2 separate regions of the Homo sapiens genome follow, and region 2 is linked to region 1. The links are contacts of gene promoters, found by promoter capture Hi-C in blood cells and fetal thymus (Javierre and others, 2016). All regions are on one chromosome and are shown on one strand. Each heading gives the region's core, a stretch centred on a gene start or on the middle of the fragment in contact. The rest is flanking DNA. Distances are from core to core; before and after follow the strand shown. Region 1 holds the start of C3orf36 (chromosome 3 putative open reading frame 36). Region 2 overlaps RAB6B (RAB6B, member RAS oncogene family).

Region 1 (4,102 bases), core at 1,137-3,636:
GGTGCTTTATCGCGGGCAGTCAGAGAGGAAGTTTTCTCGAGGCTGTGTCCCGTGAGCAGGCGCCGGTGGGCTCAGCCGCCGGGCCCTCCGAGTAGGGGAAGGCGTGCGTGCGTGCGTGCGGTGGGCGCGGGGAGCCCCGCAGGCCCGAGGGCGCCCCGGCGGGGAAGCGGGCTATCGGAGGCGCGCTGAGCCGGGTGGTGGAGTCCCGCCCGGCTGGCTGTGGGGCCGCGGGGGCGTCCCGTGGGCGGGCTGGGCGTGGCGCCTCCGCGGGTGGCTTCCCCGGGCCGCGGCGGAGGGGCGGCGCCCCCTGGTGGCGGAATGCGACTCCAGGGCGCAAGGGGCCGCCCACCCCGCCTCGCCCACCCGGCGGGGGCCTCCGCGCCTTTTCTGAGAAAGCCAGAGGAAAGGAGCCGAGACCGCAGTCCCCTGGGCCCGTTTCCTCGTCTGTGGAATGGCATGATTATTGCATCTCACAGGGCTGTCGTGAAGATTCAAGGAGCAAATGTATGTAAAGCGCTTCGGATGTCTGGTACATTCTGAGCCTTCAACCCACCTGAGCTGTTGAAACTCTGGGATTCAAGCGATTCGGGTCAAAGAGGAACGGTGTGACACCTGCCTCTGTCCTTTCCAAGGTGGACTCAGGGATTGCATACGTCTCATCCAGAACCCCCAGTCTCTCTTTTGTAAGCTGGCGGTCATGAGATGTAATGAGGAAAAGGTTTAAACAAATGTTGGTCCCTATCTGGGACCTCTGAAGTCACTTTTAATGGATTTGGGGATTTTACAGATTTAAAAAGGGGTGCCTACTGTGGCCCATTTATAGACCTGTGGAGCGAAGAGAAGGAGATTAGTCACACTGGGGGCCGGAGTAGAAGCCGTTTTAAATTAGTTGCCCCGCTCTGCCTTGAGACTGAGACTTTCTGACTCTCAGTTTCACCCTTGGGTTCCAGCACCCAGATGAGAAGAGAGAGAAGGTGGAAGAGGAAGAGAGGGAGGGGATAGAGCAGCGGCCACCACCTCTCCCTGAGAGGGCGCAGAGTGGGTGGTTCCCCCCAGGTGAGCAAGGTGGGGGCCCCGTGGGTGTGCTGGGTAGGGGTGGAGTGTGCTGGGAGCACGCGGGAGGACTGCGCCTCTGCTCCTCGGGGTGTGGCGCGGCCCACTCAGGAGCCCCTTCCAGTGTAGACTCCAGGAGGGTACTCTGAGCTAGGAATGCCTTCCTGAGCGTGGTTGGTGGGGGCTCTAAGGCCATTCCTCCAGGCCCTGAGGGGGCAGAGAGACACGTGAGCACTAACCCAGGAGCCGGGACTAGGCTGAGCCCACTACTCACAGCCTGGGGTAAGCCAGCCTCAAGACCCTCCAGGATGGTCTCAGCCTGCATCCGACTGCCTCTCCTGCCTGACCACTGCGCTCCTTCACAGGCCTCTGGCCGGCGAGTTCTCAAGATGTGCAAAGGTTTCCTGCTTCCTTACCTTTGCACACCTTTGCTTATTCCTTTTGCCCAGAAAGTCTTTCCCAGCACATTTGACTCTCTTGAATTCCAGTCTCTCCCGCATGGCTAGGATCAAGCCCGTTCTCCCATCGCTCATCAAATGAACTCAGAGCATAGTACTTTGCCCTGTGTTAAGGTCTTGTCTTAGCTCTGGATTATATGTCCTTGAAGGGTAGGGACCATGTGTTTGTCACCACCTGTCCTTATACACATCAGGTAGTACATAAATCAAGGGAGGCGTGAGGGACAACTGGAAGGAGCCTCGTTTTCTCCATGTACAGGATGGGACTAGTCATAGTGGCCGCACAGGGCTGTGGGAACTCTGGTGCGATTCTGCCATGAGTCACCCCATCTCCTCCTTGCCTGCAGGGTCTCGCTCCATCAGCTGTCCTCTTGGACCCCGCAGCCTCCCCATCCTGTGGCCTTTTGCCCCAGCAAATCTCTCCTCTCTGAAGCCATCCTTTCCTTGACCCTGCATCTCTCTCAGCCACCACCCCATCTCTGCCTCCTCTGAGCAAAATCGTCTTTCCCACCTCCCCAGCCCTCTGCAGACTGCCTCGGCCTTGCCTGGGCATCATCCCCTCAGCTTCAGGGACCCACAATTGGTGCTTCCTCCATTGGGAAATCTTTCCAGACTGTGCTTCCCAACCCCGACAGCCCCGCAAAGCTGGTTTAAGTGTCCCGGTGAGCAACTGTGTCCACCTAGGTTCACTACCCACAGTAGAGGGTTTTAGTGCTCAACCATATCTGCTCTTTTCTTCTCCTGAGCACACAGAATATTCTGTTCCGCTCTTGCGGCAGCTAGGCTGGGAGCAGAGTGAAGAGCGTTACTTTGGGACAAAGCATTGCTTAGCAGTGCGGGATCTTCCAGGACTTTCTTCCCCTGCCCCATCCATCATGGCAGCTTATAATGAAATGGAGGTACCTCAGGTTCCAAACAGTCTGAGTTACTGAGACACTGGTTGGGGGGGCTCTCAGGCCAATCCTCCAGGCCCTGAGCAGGCAGAGGGGCACTACTGAGCCACTGACCTGAGAGTCACCCAGATCACCACAGGTTCTGTGAGCGAGATACCATCTTTTGTTGTGTCAAGTGACTAAGATTCGAGAGGTTTGTTACCACAGCATAGCCAAGCCTTTCCCCACTGATTTACTGATTAAAGAAGTGTTTTAAATGGGTTAATGGCTTGGTAAACTGTAAAGATCTGTGCACATTTTAGTTATTATTATTGCTGTCAAGTTGTAGCAGGGCTGGAGACATGATGTGGCTGGAGAGTGGAGGAATGGCCAGGGTATGCCATGGAGAAAAACTTCCTCTCATTTATGATTTGCCAAGGGCTTTTCCAGGATCTGTTTCCATATTTAATCTCTGATGAAAGGTTATAATGAATCTGGTGTCTGGTGCTACTGGCAGGAGATGGACCTTTCTTCCAGGTATTTACTTCCTGTGGTTGCGAAAGATAGGATGTATTTCTTCTGGATTTGCTGCAATATAATATTTTAGTATCAATTTGATACTGACTGGCTTCAGCCTCCAGCTTAACTGTATCTCTCCATCTTTGAGAGTGGTTGAATAAAATCACAATATGGCTTTGTTTCTTGAGCAAGAATCTGCTAAGCAGTCACCAGATGGAGCTGTTCCCTTGAAGGTCTGTGTGCAGGATTCTCAGGGCCTTTTCTTCTCAAAACCCTTCCCTCTTTGTCTCTTTTCTCCACAACTCTCTTTAACTCATGGTGCTATAGGGATAAATTGGCCCTGTTTAATGAATAGTTGTGATGTTGTTGCTAGTTGAATAGAAGGTAAGTAAATGAACTGTTACCTGGTTCTTTTGCCTTTGTTACCCACCTTAATGGCCCTCAAGAGATTCCCCCACTTCCCTCCCATGGGCCAGTGAACATCAGTGGGAAAAGAGGGGCCTCCCCACCATTTTAGTCCATGCTGACTCTTCAGAATGACTCAGCTGGGGCAATTGGGCTGGACCAGAGAGAAGTGGACAGCCTGGTTTGAGTCTAGACCTGGCCAGCTATTATCTATGTGAAATTGGCCACAATGGTTGCTTCCTCGGGATCAGATTCCTCACCTTTACATGGGGCATCCATCATGGAGGATCACCCCAAAGGGCTTTGGGCCAAAGGATAATTGATAGAGATACGGTATTTAGTTATCACTGTATTTGCGCTTTTTCCAAGAAGGGTAAAAGAAGGATTGAATAAAAAAGGTTCCTGCACACTCTTCCTTTTCCGGCTTTTTTGTTCAGCCCTTGAGGAGCGGGATTCTGTAGGGAGAGGGAGTGGTGCAGAGGAGTGGGCTTCCTAGGACTGGGGCCGGGAGAGGGCATAGCCGCGAGTGTGCACAGGGAGGTGGGCCTAACCCTGGGGTCTCGGCTTTGTAGGGTTTCCAGGCTCAGGTGAGAAGCAGGGCCATTAAACAGCCTCAAATGGGAAAGGGACCAAAGACCCACAATGGCACCCTTGAATGCGTAGGCATCCAAGGACCTTCAGATGGCTCTAGGAGCCAGACCCAAGCATGGTTGATATTGAATTTCCAGCCAGACAGTAGGATGGGGGGTTTGAAATCAATAACTGATTTAAAGAAATAAGTGATTTTTTTCTTTT
Region 2 (4,102 bases), core at 1,090-3,589, 96 kb before region 1:
CTTCTCCCTGGTTCCTGGAAGTGATGGGTGGGCCCAGACAGCCTGTTACAAACTTACCCCCTACTGCTGGATATGCTTCCCCAATCCCAGTGCCTCTGACTCTACTGCAGCACAATCCTGTCTGTATCTGGAATGTCAAAGCACACCACAGCCCCATCAGAGAGTGCAACAGGGCTGTGGAATCCAGTCATTTGGATGTGGTTCCAGCTCTGAATTAAGGAGCTGGGAGGCCTTGAGCATGCTCTATCTGGTTTGCGGCGTCACTGTCCTCACCTGCTTAGAGCCACTTCATGAAGTGCCCACACTACTGCTCTTTCTTTGCGTAAGCCAGCCTTGTTCAGAAACAGTCTGGGGCCCATGTGATGGGCGCATACTGTATTTGGGTAGAAAGTGGGGGTTGGGGGGTTGTGTATGTAGAACCAGTAAGGGGCTTATGGCTCTACCATTTGGTGGCCCCTTGGCTCCTACTTTGTTGAGAGCAGACCAGTGGAGGGTGCTGCTGGGCAGAAGTATTGGCCAGAGCGGCCCTGAGGGGTCCTCCTGTCTCGAACGTGAAGAAGAGGTGCAGCAGCCCCCCATCTAGACCTGCAAGCAGCAGACGGAAACCTCATGCCACACATTCACCAAGTCCTGAGCTGAGCAAGTGAGGCCAGGTGTGAACAGTTTATACAGCGCCACAAAGCAGTGCTTCTGTGTGGCTGCTCTCAATGTGGAACACAATTATGAACATGACCCCAAAGCACACACCTTCAAAACACCTGGATTTGGACTGTGAGTAAGCAGAAATGCCAACACCCCATCCCGAAAGAAGCAGAATGACGGCTGCCTCTGCCTGGTCCCTCTGGGACCTCTGGTGGCCGCTCTAGCACCTGCCTCGTGAGAGGCCCAGCAAGCTGGCTCCTGGGCAGAAGTGAAAGGATGGGGGTACATCTACCCAGATGAGGGGACCCCTTAGCTAGAAAAAGGGACACAGGTCACAACACCCTGTGCAGTCTGTTTGCAACCTGCCATGTATCCTTTCTCCCAAGGGGCCCAAAGGTCAGTGGTAGCTGGATGAAACGCTAGGCATACCAGGACGATGACGAGCTCACTGTCACCCTGCACTCAGCCCAGTCTGACCTGACTGTGGGCCCAGCCTGGAGCCCTCAACAGCGCGACTCTGGGAGAATGTGAATGAAACGATCACCACTCACCCCGGCCAGTGTGCCACACCTTGGGAGCTGGTGGGATGGAGAGCGGGCAGTGCAACCCTTCCCCTTGCTGGCAGGCACAGCGGAGATCGCCTGCACCTTGTCTGCCCCTCTCCCTTGTTCCTGCTCCTATGTTTGCCCTTCAGGTTGGCTTCTGTATGTTCCTGGAACCTCAAAGGAGTCCCATGTGACAGGTGATTCCACAGGGGCTCTCTCCTGAGCTCTGGAGCCTGTCTCTGCTACTGAGAGCCGTGGGGTGCCCTAGTTTAAGTTTCTGAGCCTCAGTTTCCTTATCTGTGATTGGAGTCTCATAACTGACCAACCAGGAGATACTCCTCAAACCCCCTCCTCTCGGCCACTGCTTGTCCTCTGGTGACACACAGACCGTGGGACTGCTGGGGCACCTGCTCCTTGGTGAGCCTTCCTGACCCCCCCGGGGGGTGGGTCTCGAGTCTGCTCTGAGAGCTCCTTGAGCAAGGCTGGAGAGGCCTAGCTTCCCTCCAGGCCTGTGTCAGGCTCCCCCTTGCTGCAGCCCTGGGACTCCTGGTGTCCTGCCCGCCCTGCCCCAGCAGCTCCATGAGGCCTCCAACATTAAGCTGTGTGCTTCTTTTGCTTTTGATTCTCATCAGCCCAAAGGTGCCCTTCCATCTTCCCAGGGCCCTTCTTTGATCTGTCAGGGATGTCTACCCTCAGAGGCCTATAGGATCAGTGGGGGATGTTGGAGAGCTGCTGTGTAGGGACAGGTCCACTGTAAAGGATGCCAGCCAGGGATCTGCATGCTTGTTTTCTGGTGGCTTACTCAGGCAGGGACATCTGACTAGATGCAGGGGAGGCCCAGGTGTGGGCAATGGCTTCCCCTGCTGAAACAGTTTTCATCTGATTCTCTCAAATGCCCTTAGAGGGACAGTGTCCCACATGGAATAGGGCTGGATATGGAGGAAGCAAGCCTGAGTGTGAATCCTAACTGTAACTTACATGCTGTGTGACACTGGGCAAACCAGACTACCTCTCTGAACCTCAGTTTCAGCATCTAGGTGTCTCTTCAGGTTGGGGCTGGTTTGTGGGTGATGCGCAATGGTCCCACAGATCAGTGGGGAGCCTCAGGAGCTGTTCAGGGCTGGGTAGAGAAGGTGGGCGGGACAAGGAGGGGGCATCTGTCTGAAGGGGGGAGCTGTCTTGAGTAGACTGAACCACGTTGAGATCATATCCCCAGTGACAGAGACTTCCCTGCAGTGGAGACTCTGCCTGTGTTCATGAAACCCATAAACATGCTCGCTGTAAAGAAGGGCAAAGTCGCTGTTTCTCACTCCCCACCCCACAGCATCACTCTGTGCACACCCCTTTGGTATCTTCCTGCTATTCTGGAAGAAGAAGTAGATGGTTAGAGCCAGACGGGGGCTCCAAACCATAGGGTTCAGCTGCATCCCGCCTAGAGGAGGCCCCGTGCCATTCGCGGCAGACCAGGGAAGGCTGGGCGGGGACTGGGCGAGTGTCTGTCCACTGCACTAACATATTCAGTGAATAAATGGCTTCTATACATCTTTTCACTCACTTGTCAAAGGAAAAGGATACTCCCTTCTTTGCTTTTCTCCTGGACATTCTCCATTCCGGGTAGAGCCGACGCCACACGTCGAAAAAGCTGGAAAGATGAAGAAATGCAGTGTGAACCCCAACCCTGGCCCTCCCCTCTGCTCCTCACTGCACCTGCACCCTCACCCCTCTTCCCCTCCCAACCTGCAGCTTTACTCTCCCATCTGCCCAGCGGACGGTGCCCTCAAAGGCAGGGGCTGTGCCTATGTTCTCTCTCCCCCACCTCTCACAGCATTGGGTCTGGGCAGGCCTCAGTAGCTTGTGGAAGGAAGGAACAAAGCTGTGGCCTCTCACCCAAGCAGACTGGCCATAGGGTCACTGGGATGAGCTTAGGTCATGGCAGTGACTGCAAGGGACTTCCTCTGGTGCAGAAAATGGTTTGGGCCTCTGGGTGACAGGCCTTAAGGTGGGCTTCTGCAAACAGCCCTCATGGGGACCAGGCATGGGGAAGTGACTTGCCCTTGAGATGAATGACTCTGCTTGGGGAGCCCTGCAGGTCCGGCGCCAAGGCAGCGAACAGCAGGGCCAGGGCTGCATGGGCACAGTGGTGAGGCTTCTCTGAGAGCGCGAGGGATGCAGGAGTGTGAACACAATTTTGTGGGCTTGTTTGGATGTGTAGGAGTGTGAGTTGTTTATTGTGTGTAGGAGTGTGTGTACAGTGTATGTGTTTTATCTGTAGGACTGCGTGGAAAATGTGTGTGTTGTGAGTGGTGCGTGTGGGTAGGTGCATGTATGTTTGTGTAAGCATATGGGGGAATGTTTGAGTGTGGTGTGTGTGAACGTGTGGCATCTTTATGTGTGTGTTTGTGTAAGTGTGGGGGGAATGTGTGCATAGTGTGTGTCCTTGGTAAGGTGTGTGTCTGCGTACATGTGGGTTTTCTGTGTGTGTGTGTGTGTGTGTGTGTGTGTGTTTGGGCAGGTGTGGGTGGCAGGGGACAGGTGGCAAGTGGCAGATGGGGTGCTGGCAGAGATGGAATCTTGGAGGTGACAGGTACGAGGCAGAAGTATGAGGCACAGAAGACTCTGAACTGCTAGGTTCTGAATGCCGGTCCCCCTGCAAATTCCTATGTTGAAACAGAATCTCCAATGTGACAGTATAAAGAGGTGGGGCTTTAGGAGGTGCTTAGTCAGGAGGGTAGAGTCCTCATGAACGGGATGAGTGCCCTTATGAATGAGGCCCGAGGGAGCCTGTCTGCCCCTTCCACCTTGTGAGGATGCAGCAGGAAGGTGCCATCTAGGAGGAAATGGGCCCTCACCAGACACTGAATATGCCTGCACCTTGACCATGGAGTTCCCAGCCTCCAGAGCTGTAAGCAATACAT

The links. The method cuts DNA at HindIII sites, captures the fragments that hold promoters and counts their contacts. A CHiCAGO score of 5 or more calls a contact.
Region 2: a contact is called between a fragment that was not itself captured here and the fragment with the promoter of C3orf36 in region 1, in 1 of 17 cell types (megakaryocytes). The highest score is 6.5, in megakaryocytes.

What each region holds. Positions count from the first base shown.
Region 1 is chr3:133,927,426-133,931,527 of GRCh38, forward strand. C3orf36 (chromosome 3 putative open reading frame 36) reads right to left here and starts at 2,387. Exons shown (of 1, transcript NR_161373.1): 1 at 720-2,387. RefSeq lists a silencer at 16-545. The HindIII fragment of the contact is 5,965 bases long and covers 1-4,102 here.
Region 2 is chr3:133,831,813-133,835,914 of GRCh38, forward strand. RAB6B (RAB6B, member RAS oncogene family) reads right to left here. Exons shown (of 8, transcript NM_016577.4): 7 at 2,763-2,829. Among named protein-coding and RNA genes, the nearest start is that of SRPRB, 28 kb to the left of the region's middle. RefSeq lists a silencer at 3,765-3,945. The HindIII fragment of the contact is 9,695 bases long and covers 1-4,102 here.